Linked DNA regions of Homo sapiens: all the other regions are linked to region 5. Evidence: promoter capture Hi-C in 16 types of primary human blood cells and fetal thymus (Javierre and others, 2016). All regions are on one chromosome and are shown on one strand. Each heading gives the region's core, a stretch centred on a gene start or on the middle of the fragment in contact. The rest is flanking DNA. Distances are from core to core; before and after follow the strand shown. Region 1 has its middle 400 kb from the start of LINC01605. Region 2 has its middle 360 kb from the start of LINC01605. Region 3 has its middle 380 kb from the start of LINC01605. Region 4 holds the start of LSM1 (LSM1 homolog, mRNA degradation associated). Region 5 holds the start of ZNF703 (zinc finger protein 703). Region 6 has its middle 330 kb from the start of LINC01605. Region 7 has its middle 300 kb from the start of LINC01605.

Region 1 (2,943 bases), core at 272-2,771, 500 kb before region 5:
GAGGCCTCCTTCTGGGAAACAAAGCTTCCAAGCAACCCCGCCTTCATTACAAACTGACATGCAGTGATTACTAGACCTGTGGGGAACTCCTAACACATGAAAGAAAAAGACCAAAACAAAAACAAGCAAGCAAAACAGAAACAAGAAACTTGTTATAAATGAAGGCAATGCAGACAAGAGGAGAAAATTTGAAAAGAAAATTTAAACTCTGGTTAATCATTTCAAAAGGATAAAAGAAGATGTGCCTTCATGAAACAGGATCAGGGAACTCTTCAAAAATGAGGATGTTGAAATCAGTCCTCAGATCTTGACCATATAGCAAACCAGTTCAGGCTGTTGGTTCCTCCCTTCAATATCAACCTGAGAAATGAAAAACCCAGTGGTTCTCATTACTTCACATGCATGGGAATTACTTGGAAGGCTTGTTAAGCTAAGTTGGCTGGGTCTCACCCTCCATCAGCAGGAGAATATCAGGAAAGTGCGAAAGTGTTGTTGGGGTGAAGAGTGAGGAAAATAGGGGTTGACCAAGCAACTATTTTGGGTATTTACTCTCCGCCCAGGAATTCCTTGTTCTGAGAATTTAAAGCAAAACCCTGGTCAGAGAAAGTACCTAATAAGAGTGGGGGCAATTTTGAGTGACCAGCAATAATTCTGTAGGGTTTAACTGTCTTTACCACCTGGGGTTCATCATCTACCATCTCTTTAAACCCAGTGAGTAAAACACAGTCTACATGACATCAGTTCTTCCCCAAAGGGAAATATCCCCAAAGGAACTTGAGCCTACATGCCAGAATAACCACTCAAGGAGTACAACCACTCAAGGAGTACAACCACTCAAAAGAAAGGCAACTAAATAAAAAATGTCGACCATCTAAAGCCAAATGATTAGCTTAAGCAGATCAATAATTTAAATAGGCTTACCAAATAAAGATATAAGGGATAATATAAGCATAAAGAAAGAACCAAGTGGAAATATTATAGATGATAATGGAAATAAAGAATCAAATATTCAGCAATTTACATGATGGATAGAGCAAAAAAAAAAAAAAGAAAAAGAATTAAGGAGTTGTAAAATGTAACAGAAGAGCTTTTCCTGAAAGGAGCAGGAGATGGAAAACAATTTTTTAAAGTTAAGAAACTTGTCTAAAAGAAGGGTCAATAACAGTAAATAAGAATGAGGGGATAACACAGGAAGAAAATAAATAAATAAATTTTTGAATTCTCTCTTTTTTTTCTTTTTTTTTTTTGAGACGGAGTTTTGCTCTGTCACCCAGGCTGGAGTGCAATGGCATGATCTTGGCTCACTGCAACCTCCACGTCCCGGGTACAAGCGATTCTCCTGCCTCAGCCTCCCAAGTAGCTGGGACTACAGGTGTGTGCAACCACATCCAGGTAATTTTGTATTTTTAGTAGAGATGGGATTTCACCATGTTGGCCAGGCTGGTCTTGAACTCCTGACCTTGTGATCTGCCTGCCTTGGCCTCCAAAGTGCTGGGATTATAGGCATGAGCCACCGCGCCCAGCTAGAAAATACATTTTTGAAGCAATAATAAAGATGTGAACCAAATTTAGTGTTCTCAACATGTCAAGCCTTACCGACAATGCAAAGCAATAGAAACTCAAAGCAATAGAAACTGCTGGTGAGATATAACCTGGTTCAACCCGGTGGAAATACTTTGGCATTAAACATGCCAAACTAAAGTTAAATACGCACATAATCTACATTCTAGCAATTCCACCACTAGGCATTTACCTTAGAAAAATTCTCAAACATATGCGCCAAAAGATATGTAAAAGAATGCTTATGGCAGCACTATCCTTCACAGGAAAAATCCAGGAACTAAATATCAATAGACAGTGCAATGAATAAATAAATTGTGGTATAATCATACACTCGCATATACAGCAATGAAAATAAATGAATTATAGATTTAATTATTGACATGGATAGACCTCAAACACATAGTGCTCTAAATACACAGATATTTTAAAGAAAAGACTATTCCATTCATATCAAGGTCAAAATCAAACAAAACTAAATAATATATTGTTGAGGAATACCTATTAGATGGTAAAAAACTAAAACTAAAAAACAAAATTCAAGACAATGCTCATTTGCAGGAGAAGAGCGAGTGGGATGTGACAGGGCAATGCACCCAGGGTGCTTCTGAGTAGTTGGTGACATTCTATTTTGCGATCCTGGAAGTGGGTCTCTGGGTGATTTTTTTAAAAATTGTATTCAAACTGTGCGTGCATGTTTTTCATAAACTCATACCTATGTATACTATATTTTATAATAAAAAATTAAAAATAATAAAGATACATTTTCTAAAATTAAAGAAAGATGAAAGACATTGAATTGAAAGCAGAAGAGGTGGGAGTGTTCAGCAGAGCAAGTGGGAAATATGAACTAAGATGTGATAAATCCTAATATAATAGGCACTACTATAAGTGTAAATGGGTTAAACTCACCAGTCTAAATATTAAGTTTCAGACTGGGTTTTAAAAGAGATCTAGCAACATAATGTCTACAAGAAATATACTTAGAACCAAAAGAATGGAAAGGTTAAAAATGTAAAAATTGAAAAAAAAACTCCAAAAATATAAACCCCCCCAAAAAAGTGGGTTAACACTGTTAATACCAGAAGAAGTTGAATTTAATATTGAAACAGAAAATCCTAAGGGCTTAAGTAAAATATCATTTGCTAACCATTTTGAACATTAACACTCCTAACAATACAGTCTCAAAATATTGACCTAAGCAACAACTGACATAAATTAGAGAGAGAAAAAGGTAAATCAAAAATACCAACTGAAGATTTCAACAGACCCTTCCCAGAAACAAATAGATCAAGGAGACAAAATAAATGAAGGGAAATGTAAAAGATCTGAACAACAAAACAGTGTTTCAGCACTTACAGAACTCTGCAAGTGCACCCAAAA
Region 2 (2,839 bases), core at 340-2,839, 450 kb before region 5:
TTTCCAGCACTGGCTGCCCTTGAGCTCAGGTGCAGTCAGGTGGACTTTCTTGTGATTTCTTCCCTTGGATTCTCCCATGTGGTATCTGCTTTTCCCACCCCAAAGTCACAGAATTATAGAACCTATAGATAGGTTATGTCATCTGGTCTCTAAATCTCCTCATCAACAAAGATTGTCCAGGCACTGCTCAGAGGTCTTCAGGGATGGGGCATTTGCTACCCAGGCAGCACAGTCTATCTGGTCTTAACTTTTGAGTGTGGTGTGTAATAACATCTTCATATTTTACCTCATGTGGCTTACAGTCCCAGAAGCTTCTGTTACCTTGCCACCCTTACCTCTGGTAGACAGCAGCCAAGGCTTTTTTTAAGTTCCTTCGCTTCAGGGAAGGAACAGCAGAATCAAAGAGTCAAATTTATGGCTGAAGTTTCAAAAGCCAAGGTCTAAACAATGAGGCAAAGATTGAAAAGACTCTGAGATTAGTCTAAGCCAGGTTTCCCCCCATCAAAAAAAAAAAAACACGTAAATAAATGATTCTATATTCTTAAACTGAGAGGAAGGAAACCATGGGTCCAAGAGAAAAGGAAGGAAATGTAGGTGCTGGGAAGTCCCCAAGAAGAGACTGTCACCTGGGCCAACTCTGGCTGGGATGACAGACTTTCCAGATTAGAGCAAAGGCAGAAAGATGCCTTTCCCCGCCCCACTCCAATACCTTCCAACTCTGTGATAGAGCCAAAGGGCCCAGCAAGACTCCCCTCAAAATCCCCCCAACTTCTGTCAACACAGAACCCTGTGCTGGAAGCAGGAGGGAAGGGAGGAGGGGAGGGCACAGGCAGACGGGCCTGGACAACCTCACAGAGAACCTCACGTGTTCTCCACACAGCCACAAGTGGCATGAATGTGGCACAGACAGCCAGCAAACGGGACAAGCTGGGAACAAAGAAGACCTTGCAGAGAACTTCTTGGACTGAAGACCGAAGGCCGATGGGAATGAGGACACCCCTAATGGATGCCAACACAGAGGGATGATGGCAATCCAGACAGAGGCCCCCACCCCTTCCAGCCTCTGCTCTCTGTTAAAATCCCTGCAACTTATACACTACCTGGGGGAAGGTGAATGTGTTAGGCTTCAAACTGCGATTTGGGTGTTTTTAGCCCAAGCACTGTGATATCATCATAGAATTAAGTTTTGCTCAATGCAGAGATTCCCTAAAGAAATAAAAGTAGAAGTATCATTTGATTCAGCAATCCCACTACTGGGTATCCACCCAGAGGAAAAGAAATCATTATATGAAAAAGATACTTGCACACACATGTTTATAGCAGCACAATTCACAACTGCAAAAACATGGAACCAACCCAAATGCCCATCAATCATCCAGTGGATAAAGAAACAGTGGTATACATATACAATGGAATATTACTCAGTCATAAAAAGGAATGAACTAATGGCATTTGCAGTGACCTGGATGAGATTGGAGACTATTGTTCTAAGTGAAGTAACTCAGGAGTGGAAAACCAAACATCATATGTTTACACTCATAAGTGGGAGCTAAGCTATGAGGGTGCAAAGGCATAAGAATGACACAGTGGACTTTGGGGACTCGGGGGAAAGGGTGGGAAGGGGATGAGGGATAAAAGACTACAAATAGGGCACAGTGTATACTGCTCAGGTGATGGGTGCATCAAAATCTCACAAATCCCCACTAAAGGACTTACTCATGTTACCAAATACCACCTGTACCCCAATAACCTACAGAAATAAAAAATTTTTTTAAAGTGACACTTGTGACTATTAGCAATTCATATATATATATATAATCATAATTTTTCATTTAAAAATTAAGTTTTGCTATAGAAAATTTTAAAAATTGTATTTCTTAAAAAAAATTAGCCAGGTATAGTGGCAGGCACCTGTAGTCCCAGCTACTTAGGAGGCTGAGGCAGGAGAATGGCATGAACCCGGGAGGTGGAGCTTGCAGTGAGCAGAGATCATGCTACTGCACTCCAGCCTGGGCAACAGAGCAAGACTCCATCTCAAAAAAAAAAATTGTATTTCTTGTCCATCTGGGTTTGTGGATTGAGGTTTGTGTCTGCTATGACTATTAGGAAATATTGTCCTTTTAGGATAACATAGGTCTCCTTCTACTCCATCGATTGCTCCTAATTCTCTCCCTACCATCTGAAGACAAAGAGAACAAACCTTCTACATCAGCACTAACAAACAGTGGTGCATGGATAGATGTGAGTTCATACACTGTTTGCTATCTGGCCTCCGTGAGCACAAAGATGAAAGGAACAGTTTCCAAAATGTTATAGCAACTGGACATTGGTCACCAAGCACGTGACCAGTGGACATGCCTTGTGGAACACAATATAGACACAATCAGATGTCAAACTTACGTGATAAGCGGATTGTGATGTGAGCTCCATGCTAGTTATAAACAGTAAAACCGTGTATCAAAGGATGAGAAGTTTTTTTTTTTAACCGTTCCTTTGCCATGAATAATTGAAAATTGAGATGCACTATTTTACCTAAAATTGCTGGAAATCCTCAAAGAAAGCAACTGAGAGCCTCCCAGCCACCTCACTCTTTTCTCCCACAAACTAAAGAACCAAGGTTCCTTTCATGATCCTGCTTGTCATAGTTTCAGCCCCCTAAGAGGCTGGTCATTTAGTTCTAGCTGTTATCCAGGAAATTGGCATGGGGGCAGTGGAGGGGTGGGCCTAGAGCTACAAGACTCCTGTTTCTCCTCAGTTTTTTTCAGTTTCCCAGCTCTAGAGTTTCTCTTTGGAGAGACTCTAACCCTGGTTGGGTGGCCCCAGAGAAATGTGATTTGGG
Region 3 (3,207 bases), core at 567-3,066, 470 kb before region 5:
AGTGGCAGTAGGGAATCTGTCTGGGGAAGAGGAAGAAAGAGAAGAAAAACGGCCCCCTCTGAAAGCTTTCCAATCATTCCAGCAGCCACCATCTCTAATTCTTTTCTTAAAGTATAAAATCATTCTTTCACTGATCTCACTCGTGGCCAGAGCTTAGTACAGGCCCATCCGTCACGGGGCTGATTTGGTTCAGCAGGTGTTGGCTGGGCCATCGCTCATTTCAGGCTAATCTGCTAGCGGCTGTCAGGGGTTATGGAGTATTTATTGAGTTTGTGTCAGGTCCGGATGACCAATAGCCAACAGCCGGTGGATACGCACTGACATTGATGATATTGCTGAATTAAACGAGGTGATGTATGCTCAACTTGCCTAGAGCCAGAAATGGACCTTGGGATCATTTTATAACCTGATGCAGATGATCCCAGGGCTTTCCTTTTCAAAGAAAACATGACACACATGGTGTTTCTAGTCAAAGAAAAAATACACGGTCCCCAGTGAAGGGAGCCATGTCTGTATGGAAATGAACAAAAGCATTTCCTGGGGAGACCTGAAGGAACAAATAAGACCCTCACATTTGGCAAACACCCCTCCATGCACTGCCAAGGCCTGTGGGGTTCACAATATTTAGATCTCAGACTTCACCAGAAAAAGACATTAATTGGTGACCCAGGCTCAGGACCATGAACATAAATCTGGTCAGAGTCTGCCTTTGGTGGCCACAAGATGTCACAGACTAGAGCACTTGAGTTGAAGTCAAGCACTGCATTTAAAGCCCACCTCTGCCATTTCCTAGCTGTGGCTTTGAGCAAGTACATACACTCCTCAGAGTCTTAGGTTTTTTAATGCAAATAGGATAGTGATACTAACAAAAGAGCCAACATGAGGTCGTGTGGGACGCTGCGTGCGCTAATACCCACAGATGGTTTCTTACATTTGTTCTCTCTTTCCTTTTCTTCTCCTAGAACCACGCCTCTCTCCCCGACCTCAACCATCTCCAAAGCAAGACATTACCTTCTCTACCCTTGCTGCCTATGCCAACAGTGATGGGGGTATTGCCCCAAAAGCCCATGGGGGCACCACATTCGCATGAGCAGAATTTGGCATAAAGTGTCTGGCTTAGACCTCCTCCAAGAGGAAGGATCTCAGGAGTTAGCAATTCCACAGTCAGTCCTGTGGCCTGGCCCCAACATCAAGTCTCTAATGCCCTCATAGGAAGCGAGTAGGGGCAGTTGCTCCTTGCTGAGAATCCGAGCAAGAGGATATGTGATCGATGCTTGGTGTCTGCCACTCTGAGATATTGAGCAGTTCACTTGCACTGTCTGGGCCTCAGCATCTTGTCCTGGTAAATGCCCCCATGAGAGTGGCTGATCTCCAAGCTCCCATTGGTCTTACTATCCAGGATTTGTGACTAATTTGGGAGAAGCTCCTCTCCAAGGCCACCACTTCCTCCTTTAGGAGAGGCTCTGGGCTCTGGCAATGAGGTGGTCCCTGCCTCTCAAAAGGTATATCAACAGGGGAGGCTTTCCAAAGGGCCAAGGTGTGGAGGAAATCAGGATTCAACATGTTCTCACTGCCATGACTAGCAATAGCTGCCATTTATTGAACACCTACTCTGGGTGCCAGGCACCAAGAGAATGGTTTTCTCCATTTTGCAAACAGAGATACTGAGGCTTCAAGAGATGAAGTGAGGCAATGAGGCCACACATCTGGAAAGAGACACAGCCAGGATTTGACTCTCAATTCCTCGTCTCTGCGGGTGGCAGGCTGCCCACTGATCTACCCTACCCAAGAGACACAGGTGACCCACATCACACTGAAGTATCAGCCGGTCTCAGATTTGGCATTAGAGCAATGCCTCCCTTCATCCCCAGGCATTCTGGAAAACTGCTAAGAAGCATAATGGAGTGTTTTACACTTCCCCTCCCACTCCAACACTCCTCCCCTCCCGTCTGCCCCTCACCACAGAAAAGGAGAGAATTAAACACAGGCAGTGAGGGAGGAAAGAAAGGACAGGACCCTGCACAATCGTCCCCCAAATAATCGATGACTGCATCCACAAGTACATATTAATCTATCACATATTAATAGAAATGACTGATGCACAGTGTGTGTGTGTATATATATCTACAAATCTACCACACACACACATGCACGCAAACACACGCACGCACGCACATGCATGCATACCCCTTAGATTGCTAGGTGCTCTTGGCAAGTAGGTGACTAGCTCTCTGATGCTTCCCTGTGATGGAAATTGAATTTAGGTTACAGAACATCATCTGGCCCAATTGCCACTGAATTATTCCACACAAAATATCAAAGTTAATTTTTGGGCCTGTCAGCCCAGTTGATGAGTTGGGCGGCTGTCAGCCCGGCTGCGCCTGCCTTCAGTGCCAGAGAAGAGTCTGAAAGTCATGCAATCCAAAACAGCGACCTTGGCGGGGGACGGGGGTTAGATTACCAGGATGATTAAACGCCAAGGAGAAGGTTCCGGAGTCAGGATTTGAATACCTGTTTACATGTAGGATAACAGATAGCCGCCCACTGACGGCAAGGTTGTAACTCACTCCCGGGAGGGCCGCCGCCACCATAAAACATGAAGGCCCCGCTCGGGAAGTCTGTGCCCTGGCAGCCAGGCCTGGGAGTGATTTAGGGCCCCGGATCCATTCTGAGACTATCTAATCTATTGTCTTTTATTACATGCACTACTCAGTCTCTCTCTCTCCTTCTTGCAACTTTTTTTTTCCTCCAAGAAGCATCAGCAATCTCATCTCCCTTAAAAAGAATGCTACTGGAAAGTGCTAGCTTAATTCAAAGATAGTGAGGGTTCTTTATGCCATAGTCCCATTAAAAAAAAATCCTAACTGTTCCCACTGTATAAATATGTATATTCCCTCCCAACCCCGCAGATCAACCAGGCCTTCTCCCCTGCCTGTCCATCCCAATGAGCAAACCCATCCTTGCTTCCACCTTTACCTCCGCCTGAAAATTCCCCTTCACCAAAAGCCAGCAGGGCCACTTCTTTGCTTCTTCTCTGACTAATTGTCTTGGGCCATCTGATGTTGAAATAATCCATAATTGCTTAATCTATCCGCGTCTGTGTGGCAAGAAACGGAAAAGCACTTTAGAAAGATCAATCATCTAAAATCATTGAGCAGCATATTGGAAGCAGGGTCGTCGCCTGCTCCCAGCTGAGAAAATGATGGT
Region 4 (2,847 bases), core at 240-2,739, 480 kb after region 5:
CGACAGAGCAAGACTCTGTCTCAAAAAAAAAAAAAAAAAAAGAAAAGAAAAGAAAAAAGATCTGTCAACCATAAAATGATTTTTTTTTTTTTTTTGAGACGGAGTCTTGCTCTGTCGCTCAGGCTGGAGTGCAATGGTGCGATCTCGGCTCACTGCAACCTTCTCCTCCCGGGTTCAAGCGATTCTCCCGCCTCAGCCTCCCGAGTAGCTGGGATTACAGGCACCGCCATAGTGCCCAGCTAATTGTAGGAACGGGGTTTCACCATGTTGGCTAGGCTGGTCTTGAACTCCCGACCTCAGGCGATCTGCCCGCCTCGGCCCCCCAAAGTGCTGGGATTACAGGCGTGAGCCACCGCGCCAGGCCCGTAAAATGAAATTTTAACCATAGATTCTAAATTGCGTATTCACAGAGTAACTGAGACGATTGCAACTTATTTAAAACTATGTGTAAATCATCTTGAAACAAGTTAATGAGAAAGATCACATGATTAAAACAATAAAAAATGTTGCTTGAGGAATAATGCACAGACGGAATTTAGAAAAAAGGAAAGCCAGAACAACTGCAGACGGTTCTTTTCGCTTTTGTATAGGACTGAGCTCCTCTTCCGGACAAAAACCAGGAATAAGGGAGGTCTTCTTAGTAAAAGCAAAAGTAAATTGTCTTAAAAAAAAAAAAAAGGTTGCAAGTGATTTGGTCTTTCCAGAAAAGTCAATACCATGTCTAACAGTGGTCTCTACTACAATAACCTGAAGGTGCTAATGACCCTCACAGTAAAATAAGCTAGCAAATGGCCACACCGTAGAGCGCCTACATTTACTGCCAATTAAGTCCAACTGCCGCTGTCTTAATATTTTCGCTTTTTAATGAATCCTCTCTCTAGGTATTCCGATCCATCCACCGGTAACACGCTGATACTTCGAAATACTGCAGGCAGGAGTGGACGGGGGAGAAGCCCCCCCCCTCCCCGGGCTTCTTTCGTGTTCGGGCCTCTGCTGCCGCGATCCACGGAAGCAAGAATGAGTTCCATCGCTTGGGGCTCACCAGCTAGAGGGCTGGCGGAGGCTGCGAGGGGCAGAAGTAGCAGCAGGCTACTGGGTGGGCAAGCGGTGTGTACCGCAGCTGTGGAGGACATCGACGCGGAACGCCCGGATTGAGCTCAGAACACACCGGCCCCGCCCGGGACTCATTCTACAAGCTTCTTCGGAAGAGGCGCCCGCCCGGGAGGAAGGGTCTAACCCCGGGCTCCACCGGGAGGAGATAAACTACTCACTGTCAATGTCCTCGATGAGGCTGGCGGTGCCAGGCATATAGTTCATTTTGAACTGAAATAATGCTGCAATGCACAGCGGCGGGAGGCCAGCGCGTCCAAAACCTCTTCCCTCCTACCGCAGTCGCCGCCTCGGTGGGACCAAGCCCGGAATCCCGACCGAGACCAGCACTTCTGCCCCGGCTTTCAGCCGCCGGGGGCTGCCGGAAGCTCCTCCATATTACCCTTACCCACTTCCTGTAACACGTGTGGGCCCCCAGGAAGAGGCGGGGCAGCCGTACCGTTGGGGGACACCCTTTCCCTGTTCCTGTTAAGTAGGTAAGAGGAAACTCCATTGGATAAATGGCGAGGAAACGTATACTCCCTCTTAAGGAACACGGTGTCTTCCTTCGTCTCCGGGTTCCCGAGACCCCAGAGTCACTGACCTCCGTCCCTCAGCTTTCGGGGTTCGGCAGCAGAAGGGGCGGGCCCGGGCCTGGGATTGGCTGGCGTCGTCCGACCCCCTTCGCTGCTCTCCATTCGCAATCGCCCGCGGGCGCCTGCGCGATGGGTCGGCCGTGGGGAGCGGGGCGGGAAGCGCTTCAGGGCAGCGGATCCCATGTCGGCCCTGAGGCGCTCGGGCTACGGCCCCAGTGACGGTCCGTCCTACGGCCGCTACTACGGGCCTGGGGGTGGAGATGTGCCGGTACACCCACCTCCACCCTTATATCCTCTTCGCCCTGAACCTCCCCAGCCTCCCATTTCCTGGCGGGTGCGCGGGGGCGGCCCGGCGGAGACCACCTGGCTGGGAGAAGGCGGAGGAGGCGATGGCTACTATCCCTCGGGAGGCGCCTGGCCAGAGCCTGGTCGAGCCGGAGGAAGCCACCAGGTAAGCTTTGCACCCTCTGTCCTTGCGGGGAGGTGAGGGCCCTTGGGGCTGGGGTTCGTAAAGGATCGGGTTTCATACTTGTTTTCCTTATGTGGAGGAGGGTGTGTTGCGGGGGGTGTTGGAGAGACCGAGACTAAGATCAGAGGTTGGGGGGACATGCTTGTGTTCCCTTTGCCCCTCCTTTTCTGCTTCGACCCCAAAAAATATGTTTATTACCATTTAAAAAAGAAAGATCCTGCGCGGACTTACTAAGCTTAGCAGCAGGCTGCAGATCTCTCTCCTGGGAGCGGTGCTGGGTAGGGGTGGCACGGATCTACTGCTCCAGCTCTAGCAATTTATCCTGCGTGGCTGGCAGGCCGGCTCTCCCGGGGAAGGGAAGTGGCTGCAGCCCCCGATGCCGCTCAGGGACCCTCCCGAGGGGAAGGAACCTTTGCGAGGAGGAGGGATCTGGGCATTTAGCTGTTTGCCCCTAATGCCTTGCCTGAGATCGAATCATGAATAATCAGTGTTGTAAAGTACCTTTACGCGGATTGACTGATTTAATTTTCACGGCGACTGCAAGGTAAAATGGCATTACAGCGGCCCTTTTTTTTGTTTTCGAATAAGGAACCGGGGCTCTGCGAGGTTAACTCACTTGCCTAATACACTTGGACCTGCAACATTTTATTCTCCGTTTTCCTGCCGGACATATACTTCTGCTTTGTTAATACA
Region 5 (2,928 bases), core at 300-2,799:
TAAGTGCTGCCCAAAATACAGTATGGATCCAGGGAGTGCACTTAGTTTTGGGTATGACTGATACTGCCTGGAAGTGGGGTCTGCTGTCTTCTACTACTGGGCAAGATACAGATTCGTGATAGCTATTTCTTTCTGTTTGAAGAGCTCCTTTGAAATCACCTCTCCCCATCTTGGGTTCTCAGGTCATCTCAAGGCGTCGGTCAGCGCGGCAGAGTCGGGAACCTGCCATCCTAGAGCAATACGCCCCGAGTGACAGCCCTGACAACCGGAGTGATGGATCGGGACTGGAAAAGTGGTGCTGGGAGCCAGGCAGTGACACCAGCGCGCCTCCACTGGCCGCCGAGCGCACGGAGAAGTGGGCTCCCCAGAGTTCGGCACCCAAAGGACCAACTTCGCCTCCGGAAAAGCGGCGGATCCGGAACTTGGATGTCAGGACTATGACTACGTAAAATCTCTGCCCAGGGCGAAGCTAGCAATGCACACTGTATCAGAAAGGCGCAGGGAGTCGGGAAGGGTATTGTTATTTTTAATTAAAAGTTTTTATCCCGAAATTTGCCTGGGGAAAGCAAGTGCTTTTTCCCCCGGAGTGAGAAGGATGGGGGGGCGGAGGGGTTGTGTTGCCGAGCAGCGCTTAGAGAGAGATCCCCCTCCAGGGACACCCGCCTCGCCCGTGATCTCGGTCTCTCCTCGTAGCAGCTGGGCGCGGTACAGTGAGGAACTTCACGCCCCTCAGCAGGACACGGTAAGAAGCCTGTAACACACCAGACACCGAGCCTCTAACGCAGGGCGCAGGCACAGCGCGCACAGCCTGGGGTCCCGCGCTTGGTCGCCGACCATGTCACTCCAGAAGGGAGACAAACTTGCAGGCTTCAGACAAGACGGGCTCAAAGTAGTTGGAGCTGCCTACGCCGCGTCCCGAGAACAGTGGGTGCCTCCGAGGCTCGGGCGCTTCCAAGTGAACACACCAAGGGGAGGCCAAGTAGGGGAAGGAGAGCGGGGCCGAGGAGAGCCGGAGCAGCTCTGGAGAAGGACCCGGGCTCCCGAGGCGAGGCCTGCCCCCAGGCGGCCTCTGGGAGAGGCTTGAACTCCAGCGTCCCAGAGCCCGCGCCGTGCGATCCCTCCCACCCCACCCCACCCCACCCCACCCCACCTCGGACACACACGGCGGGCGGGGTTACAGCCCCCGCCAGCATCACCCCCCACCCACCCAGTGGTGAGAAGGGAGAGAGGAGAGAGAGCGGCCGGAAAGGAGGACGGGGCGCAGAGCTCAGGGTCCCGGAGAAGTCCCGTCCCAGGCGGGGGACCCCAGGGCGAGGAAGGCCCAGTCGGGGGGAGGGGAGGAATCCCGGGAGCGGCCGAGACCGAGGCAGCGGCGGCGCGCGGCGCGGCCCCTTTAAGGCTCTCCCCGCCCACCGATGGAGCCGGCCTCAGCCCGCCGCTCTCCCCGCCCCGGGGTCCCGGCGAGAGCTGCGATTGGGCGGGCGCGGCGATCCCTTTGAAGTGTGGCTGCCGATCGCGGCTATTTGACGTGCGGCTCGAGGAAGGCGAAGGTTTTTGTGTTGCTAGCCGGGGCCAGCGGCGGTGGCGGCGGCGGCGGAGGCGTCGGTGGAGGAGGGGAGGCGGCGAGGAGGCGCAGCTCCCGCTGCACCGCGATCGACGCTGCGGAGCGAGCCCACCCGCCCCGGGAGCTCGCCTCCCCGGTGCTCCCCCGCCCTCCCCGCCCCCCCAGCGGCGCTGCCTCCTCCAAATGAGCGATTCGCCCGCTGGATCTAACCCAAGGACACCCGAAAGCAGCGGCAGCGGCAGCGGCGGCGGCGGGAAGAGGCCGGCGGTGCCGGCAGCGGTGTCCCTCTTGCCACCGGCGGACCCCCTGCGCCAGGCGAACCGGCTCCCGATCAGGGTCCTGAAGATGCTGAGCGCTCACACCGGTCACCTCCTGCACCCGGAGTACCTGCAGCCGCTGTCCTCCACTCCCGTCAGCCCCATTGAGGTCAGTCCCCGGCCGCTGCCCCCGGGCGCCGGCCCCATTCCTCCCACCGCGACCGGGACCCTGACCCAGCTCCCAGCGCCCCGGGGCTCGGTGCGACACCCAAGTCTGGTCACGCTGGCGGGCTGAGTGAGGAGGGGAAGAAAACCGAGGGATCAGAGCCCACCAGGGCTTCCCCAGGCTTCCCCGTGGAAGGGTCTCCTTCCACGCTCGCCCTTCGGAGCTCCGTGTTTTCTCTCGGATTGGATTTGCTCCTGGAGTCCCCTCTGGGTCCTTTACTTTTCCTCTGATCCCCAGTTTCCAGCCAGGAGTTGGTCTCTGCTGGGTCTTCCCCGCCCCCCACGCCGGGCTGTTTTCTTTGAAGCCCTGGCTGCCCGGGTCCCACTTCGCCTCTGTCCCATCCGGTGAGGGCGCACGGCGCCCTGGCGCTCCCGATCCCGGATCTTTCTTCCTGCCTCTTCCCTGGGTGCCCTCCCCGGGAGGGAGGGGCTACGGAGAGAGCGCCAACTGCAGCCCCTCCTTTAGAATCCGCGCTCCCCTCTCCTACCCCGCGGCGCCATCGCCAGAAACCCGTCCCAAGCGAAGTTCCCCCAAACTAAAGGAATAAGTTTTTTCCTGGGCCTGGAGGAGGGGGACATTAGAGGGAAGTGGCGAGTCACAGCCCCGACTCCAGAGACGTCACCTTCTCCCGCAGGGGTCCTGGGTGAACTCCTTCCGCAGGGCCTGCGGCGCACCCCGGGACCCAGCGGCAGTGTGGGCGCAGTTCCGCCAGCTGCCGCGCCCGGCCCGGCCCTCGCTCGCAGACCCTCTCCCCAGGCCCGCCCCGCCCCGTGGCGCCGCCGCCCAGCTCCCCGGGCGCCCCCGCTCGCCCCGCAGGCCTCTGAGTCTCACTCCTTCTCCCTCCCCCTGCTTCTGTCTCCCACAGCTGGACGCCAAGAAGA
Region 6 (3,082 bases), core at 279-2,778, 420 kb before region 5:
TTCACAGCTCAAGCGGGAATGGTTACATTGAAATCTCAGTGAAGTTCAATTCAAGTTAGAAGTTAAATCATAGGATACAAGTGCCGGTTATTAAAAGGCAGAACTGCATAACAAGCATCCCCAACCTGTTGTGGGCTTCCTACCAGGCCTTCTTTTAGCCCTCCATCTTGCCAGGCCATCACCCAAAATGCCAGTGAGAACTTGTCCCTCCTCACTTCCCCACCTGGCTTCTCCATCACCTCTTCATGGAGTCTTTCTGAAAAGTCACTGCCCCATGTTTGTCTCTTCTCTTGCTCACCTTCCTCTACAGGCTTAAAGGGAGACCCAGGAAGCAATGACACCTGGAAGGTTCTGTTTGGTCTTACTCCCTTCTTGGATTGTTGAACTACAAATGCCACATTTTCTCCTTCAAGCTTGGTCTTGCCTTCCTCTTTCTACCATAGAAACAGGCAACAATACATAAATTGAGTTTTTCTGGTAATAAAAAAATACACTTTTACATTCATTGTAAATTTTGGAAAGTATAGGCAAGTATAAAGAAAGTAATAAACACCAGTGTCAAGCATAGATGATAAATAGACAGATGATAGGTAAATGATAGATAGATAGATAGATAGATAGATAGATAGATAGATAGATGATAGAATGATAGATAATAGATATTCAAAACTGGATATATAGCTTTGTATTTTGTTTGTGTGTTTATTTCCACTTAAGATCCCAATATGAGCATTTTCCCATACCCTTAAAACATTATTTGAAAACAATGGTTTTTAATGGTTTTTATTATCATCATTAATGGAATAACGATAGTATTCCATTGAATGGATTTAACCATAAATTATCTAACTATTCCCATATGTTGGATTTTAAGGTTATTTCTAATTGTTAGCTATTACAAACAATGCTGCAATACAAATCCTGTACATAAATCATTTTCTAGTATTATTTTCTAAGGTTAAATTCTTAGAAATGGAATTTCTTGGTCAAAGTGTATATAGGATTTAAGGCTATTACATTCCTCTTTATCACTACAAATGCTCTACAGTTCGTTGATCAGCTAAAGACATATTGCTAAACATTACAATGACTCTCCATGAGGATGTGCCTTGTCTCCCCAACTGGCCATAAGCATCCCCCCAAGGCACCTTGCACAGTGGTCAGCAGATGGGTAGTGAGTGAGCAAATTGGGACCACTAGACTTAGGGGAATCTTTTTCCCACCAGAGGAGTCCAGTATCACACAGGATTCTCTTTGATATCCATCCCAGGGAGTTTAGTTGCCAAAGTTCCAAGAAGACCTCATTATTACTTGGCCTTGCCTACAAAGTAATCCCGCACCATAATTTTCAGGTCTTGATGAATCCATCTCCGCCTAAAGAAGAGTTTCCTGACTGTCTGAGTTACGCCAAAATAAAATAGGCTTCCCTAAAAGTTGGTGAGTGAGTACCATGGGACAGGGATGCTGCTCCAGGGATTCAGCCTGAGATGAGATTTGAGCACCATTCAATCCTGAGATCCAGGGATTCCTCGTGATGGTTGATTCTCGTAACCCCAAAGTACAGGAGCCTACACTGAGGTCTTTCTCAGTAAATGCTGTTGACTGGATGACAGACAGACTCAGACCAACTCAACAACTGACAGAAATGGGTTGAAGGCAAAATCAATGGGGTTCACAAACCTAAGGTGCCTGTTAAATCTTCCTGCTCAGTATCAGTTACCTGATGGTTGCGTAAATCTTTTAAAACAGCTCTCATATTTCATTTCATCTGTGGCTGTACTGCAGGAATGAGTGAGTGCTATCTATTGCCTCCCACTTGCCAAATTCCACCCACGGAGGCTTCAGGACACAGAAGGGCTAGAGAGTAGTGCATGGAAGTCAGGGACCAGATTCTTCCACAGCTGAAGGAATCCGCCATGTCCAACCAGAATGCAGTTTGAGAAACGCCACATAATTGCACTAATTCAGACTCACAGCAGCCAAATGATGGGCCACTGTGAACTCATTTCTTTTTTAATCCTTAACTGATGTAAGAGAAATTCAGTATAACTGTAAGTATGTACCGATAACCAGAGCCAAGCTAATGGCTTGCTTGTCTGGGAGGTACCGAGGGAGCCTGCTCTGGGGTAGGAGTGTATTGTAAGCAATGAGCCGCTGTTCGGTAAGTGGGTGCTTGGGAAGTGTGTTGACGCTTCCTCTAATAAACAGCTTGTTTGATTTTTTTAAATGCCCCCTTTCTATTTATTTAAACTCAGGTCTATTTGCACCACTTTGAATCTACATGTGTTGAGTGAAGAATTCCTTTCCGAATTGTCATGGCTCTGAGTTGAGGTCAGAGTTAACTAGGTTTATCTAAGCCTGTAAGGTCTTCCCAGTTCCTAGGTGTGACATGGAGGACAAGGACCCTACGCTCTGTCTCCCCAGCACTGCATAGCCTTGCCAAAAGAGACAGAGAAGGTTGTAATTAATGTGGCGCTATTATCCTTAGCAAGCTAGGAGAGGATCAAAGGAGCAGGAACCTGCAGCCCTCCTGATTTCGTCAGCAGAGTTGGTAGGGGAATGGAAGGGAAAGAGCTTTGCTTGTGTTAATTAATAACAACCTCTGCAGCTCTCCCCCGGGAAAGGTGGCGACCAAAGCAATCTCAAGCTTGGGGGCATTGCAGGCAATTCTTGGGGCTATTCTCTTTTAGCACCTTGTTGCCTTTGTCTTCTACTGTGTAGAAATAAATGATGTGCTCTGGACAGCAATTTTGCTGCAATTTTCTCAACCGCCAAGCCCCTGGGGACTCCTGATCTTCCTGCCAAATACCTCAGTCCTCCTCATCATATTCAGAGCCACACTGGGGCATTTACTGAGTGAGATTCTTTTTCTTATTTTTCCCACCTTTCATTCCACCCCACCCTCCACACAGGCACCCACAACATGTTCATTAATGAATGCATTTAATCAAGTTTATGAAGTCGCTTTATTATCAATAACCCTAATCACTCTTAATTGCTGCATCATTAGTTCGGCCACACTCAGAGGTAGCAGTTAGGCAGAGCAGTAAATGACAGCCCCAGAAAAATGACTTGCTACATG
Region 7 (3,076 bases), core at 470-2,969, 400 kb before region 5:
ATCCCATCATGGGTCTACATGTGAAAGGAACCACGTTGGCTCTCTGCCCTTCTCTTACCAAGCTCATCCCCATTCTCCAAAGATATTTAACCTCTCATGCTTTTCTTCATATTCTGTCCAAGTCACCGAGAGACAGCAATTACATCAGAAAGGTACAAAGAAAAATAAATGATTCTCCTTGCCAGTTACATGGGTTTGCTCCTCCCTGCCATTTTCCAGTGTTCATTTATCTTGGGATAATGTTGAACCAAAGAGCAGTTTTGGTCACACGTTATGTTGCATGTGTATATATCCCACACAGGGGTACCCCACCCAGGCCCAAATTATAACTAACTCACCAATGCCTAGCATCAACTTTTCATGCGGCCCAGAAACTTGAGTCAAGCTGATTTCCCCTCCAGCCCTATTCTGCACAGTCAATAGTGTCACTGGTGGTGAACAGTTCTGGCTTTCCAACATTTAACTGCAAAAGCTATGTCCCACCATGACACCCAGCCTCAGACAGTCATATTAAAAAATGGGGCCTGGGGCCAAGCATAGTGGCTCAAACCTGTAATCCCAGCACTTTGGGAGGCCAAGGAGGGCAGATCACTAGGGGCCAGGAGTTCAAGAACAGTCTGGCCACCATGGTGAAATCCCATCTCTAATAAGAATACCAAAAGTATCCTGGTGTGATGGTGCATGCCTGTAATTCCAGCTACTTGGGAGGCTGAGGCACAAGAACCACTTGAGCCCAGGAGGCAGGCAGAGGTTGCAGTGAGCCAAGATTGTGCCACTGCTCTCCAACCTGGGTGACAGAGTAAGACTCTCTCTCAAAGAAAAGAAAAGAAAATGGGATCTGGACCACCTCACATTGTTCGTTACCATTTGGTTGGCATTTACTGAGCAACCACTATGTGGCCAGTGGCATTCTAATCTCTGAGGGATCTAAAGACAGTAAAGACAGAGTCTTTGCCCCTCTTAAAAAACTGGCAAGAAAGGCAAAGATCAGAACTGCAATAGAGCTATGAAAACACAGAAAAGAACCACAGCTTGACCTTGGATGGGGGACATGACTCCAGAGAGGGCTTCTTGGTGGTGACAGCCCTTGACACAGGTGTGTGTGTGAATGTATATATGTATATATGTATGTATATGTGTATGTATGTATATATATGTGTATATATATAAATTAAAACTAGCCTGGTACACAAGGATGCAGAGGAAGGACTTTTGATGCAGAAGGATCTGCAGATTTGCAAATACAAAATTTCAGACAAAGAAGACTATGGAAAACATGAAAAAGAGCCAGAAAGCAACATGGCAGTAAAGAGGCTGTGCATGGGCTGTGGGCTCTAGGCTGTGGCCAGAAGACACCTGCAAACGTAGGGAAGGGCCAGGTTCATAGCTCTCTGCTATGCCAGGCTGAGGAGACTGAGACTGATTCAAAAATTGTTGGGAAACATCAGAGGATCTTAGGCTTGGCGGTCACATGATCACAATAGAATTTTAGATCATAATGGCATCAAAGTAATGAAGACCTAAACAGAGCTGGGGAGTCAGGCTGCAGAAGATCATTGTCATTTGGGGGCAGCATACCACACAATACTGTCCTCCACATCCCCATTTCCATCTTCCTATTAGCACCCTGATCTCCCTTTCAGTGGAAACTCCTTATTTTGTGTGGTCCTGAAGGGAGACCACTGCTGCTTTCTATCATAGAAGGGGCAAGATTCTCTGCCTCACCTGCCAGAGTAGCCAGGAGTGGACGACAGGCACAGTCAATCCAACACTCCCCTCTAGAAATGTTGACTTTTGAGTGGGTAACTAAACAGCACACTTTTCACAGGCTGTGGCAGATTGTATTTTCCAAAAATGACCACAGCAATATTTCCAATTCCACATGCTGTTCCACAGTCTTGCTACTCTCCAACAAGAGGTAGAGTTTATTTCTCCTCTGGAATCAAAGCAATGGAAGTAACACTGCAAGACTTCAGAGACTACATCATGAAAAGTGAGATGGCTTCCATCTGGCTCATTCTCTCTTGAGAGGCTTGCCCTGGGAACCTAGCCACCACGTTGCAGGGAAGCCCAGACCACACAGAGCAGCCATGTGTAGGTAGGTGTCCCGGCCAACAATCCCAGCTAAGATTCCAGCTGACAGCCAGCATTGACCATCAGACTTGTGAAGGAGGGAGCCTTTGGGAGACTTCAGGCCCCACCCTTCCAGCCACCCCAGCTAACTCCACGTAGAGCAAAGACAAGCTGCTCCCTGTAAGCCATGCCCAAATTGCCTATTCATGAGCAAAATAAACATTGTCATTTTAAGTAATTGAGTGCGGGGTGCTTTGTTCCACAGAAACAGATCACTGGAATGGGGACCTTGACTGAGGATCCAACTGTGTAATATTTAGAGGTCTCTTAACTCCTAGCTATTTTCTAGTCCTGACTTTCTGGTTTCCCCCTACTATTTTAAGCACAAAATATATTTGGCGACAGCAATACTGAGTTTCTGTTGCTTGCAACCACTACCCCCAGCCAAGGAAGGGCACACGGCCATGGTCCAGGGGAGGAATGCTGAGGGCCTGAGGATAGACATGGTGGGGAAGGTTTGGAGCTGATAAACATACAGGGCACAGAATCCACCAGGACTTGAGGAAGATACAGGAAATGATGGAGGCAAGAAGGCTTCTCAGATTTCTAACTGGACCACTGGGCAGATGTTCATGCCATTCAATGAGAAAGGTATTCCAAGGAGAGAAAGGAGCTTTCAGGGAACGAACACACGTAAACTCATTACAAGCGCGGTTATCAACCTGAAGATTTTGGGATACCAGTGGGAGGCACACATGGATCTGGAATACAGAAGGGTGCCACTGTAGCTTTCCAGCTTCCCCGCGTCACTTAGGACAGACAACGCTAGAAACCAGGAAGAGTCTACTAGGGATACAGAAATCTGAGGGAAGCTGAATGCTATCCCTGTTCATGCTAAATCTTTAACTTTCACAAGTGCGCTCCATCAGGGGTGGGGGCACATAGGGGTGTGTGCATGTGTCTGAAAAGGCATACAGGTGAATATTCATGCTTTCTCAGTCCG

The links. The method cuts DNA at HindIII sites, captures the fragments that hold promoters and counts their contacts. A CHiCAGO score of 5 or more calls a contact.
Region 1: a fragment that was not itself captured here is called in contact with the fragment with the promoter of ZNF703 in region 5 in 9 of 17 cell types (naive CD4 T cells, M2 macrophages, M0 macrophages and 6 more); the score reaches 12.7 in naive CD4 T cells.
Region 2: a fragment that was not itself captured here is called in contact with the fragment with the promoter of ZNF703 in region 5 in 3 of 17 cell types (M0 macrophages, M1 macrophages and M2 macrophages); the score reaches 8.7 in M0 macrophages.
Region 3: a contact is called between a fragment that was not itself captured here and the fragment with the promoter of ZNF703 in region 5, in 7 of 17 cell types (M0 macrophages, naive CD4 T cells, M2 macrophages and 4 more). The highest score is 13.4, in M0 macrophages.
Region 4: the fragment with the promoter of LSM1 here is called in contact with the fragment with the promoter of ZNF703 in region 5 in 8 of 17 cell types (activated CD4 T cells, neutrophils, naive CD8 T cells and 5 more); the score reaches 11.0 in activated CD4 T cells.
Region 6: a fragment that was not itself captured here is called in contact with the fragment with the promoter of ZNF703 in region 5 in 3 of 17 cell types (M1 macrophages, M2 macrophages and M0 macrophages); the score reaches 7.4 in M1 macrophages.
Region 7: a fragment that was not itself captured here is called in contact with the fragment with the promoter of ZNF703 in region 5 in 4 of 17 cell types (M0 macrophages, M2 macrophages, M1 macrophages and 1 more); the score reaches 9.3 in M0 macrophages.

What each region holds. Positions count from the first base shown.
Region 1 is chr8:37,196,535-37,199,477 of GRCh38, forward strand. No RefSeq gene overlaps it. Among named protein-coding and RNA genes, the nearest start is that of LINC01605, 400 kb to the right of the region's middle. The HindIII fragment of the contact is 2,998 bases long and covers 23-2,943 here.
Region 2 is chr8:37,240,144-37,242,982 of GRCh38, forward strand. No RefSeq gene overlaps it. Among named protein-coding and RNA genes, the nearest start is that of LINC01605, 360 kb to the right of the region's middle. The HindIII fragment of the contact is 2,561 bases long and covers 310-2,839 here.
Region 3 is chr8:37,222,449-37,225,655 of GRCh38, forward strand. No RefSeq gene overlaps it. Among named protein-coding and RNA genes, the nearest start is that of LINC01605, 380 kb to the right of the region's middle. The HindIII fragment of the contact is 3,506 bases long and covers 64-3,207 here.
Region 4 is chr8:38,175,004-38,177,850 of GRCh38, forward strand. LSM1 (LSM1 homolog, mRNA degradation associated) reads right to left here and starts at 1,490. Exons shown (of 4, transcript NM_014462.3): 1 at 1,272-1,490. The coding sequence starts at 1,317. It overlaps BAG4 (BAG cochaperone 4), which reads left to right and starts at 1,852. Exons shown (of 5, transcript NM_004874.4): 1 at 1,852-2,136. The coding sequence starts at 1,867. RefSeq lists enhancers at 458-1,315, 895-984, 1,316-2,173, 1,395-1,544, 2,455-2,794. The HindIII fragment of the contact is 945 bases long and covers 1,195-2,139 here.
Region 5 is chr8:37,694,233-37,697,160 of GRCh38, forward strand. It overlaps ZNF703 (zinc finger protein 703), which reads left to right and starts at 1,550. Exons shown (of 2, transcript NM_025069.3): 1 at 1,550-1,990; 2 at 2,913-2,928. The coding sequence starts at 1,748. LOC124901932 (a long non-coding RNA gene) reads left to right here. Exons shown (of 2, transcript XR_007060887.1): 2 at 183-551. LOC124901933 (a long non-coding RNA gene) reads right to left here and starts at 1,449. Exons shown (of 2, transcript XR_007060888.1): 1 at 1,208-1,449; 2 at 513-751. RefSeq lists silencers at 189-373, 1,161-1,510, 1,561-1,660 and enhancers at 1,395-1,938, 1,939-2,481. The HindIII fragment of the contact is 16,475 bases long and covers 1-2,928 here.
Region 6 is chr8:37,272,015-37,275,096 of GRCh38, forward strand. No RefSeq gene overlaps it. Among named protein-coding and RNA genes, the nearest start is that of LINC01605, 330 kb to the right of the region's middle. The HindIII fragment of the contact is 2,234 bases long and covers 412-2,645 here.
Region 7 is chr8:37,298,853-37,301,928 of GRCh38, forward strand. No RefSeq gene overlaps it. Among named protein-coding and RNA genes, the nearest start is that of LINC01605, 300 kb to the right of the region's middle. The HindIII fragment of the contact is 4,577 bases long and covers 1-3,076 here.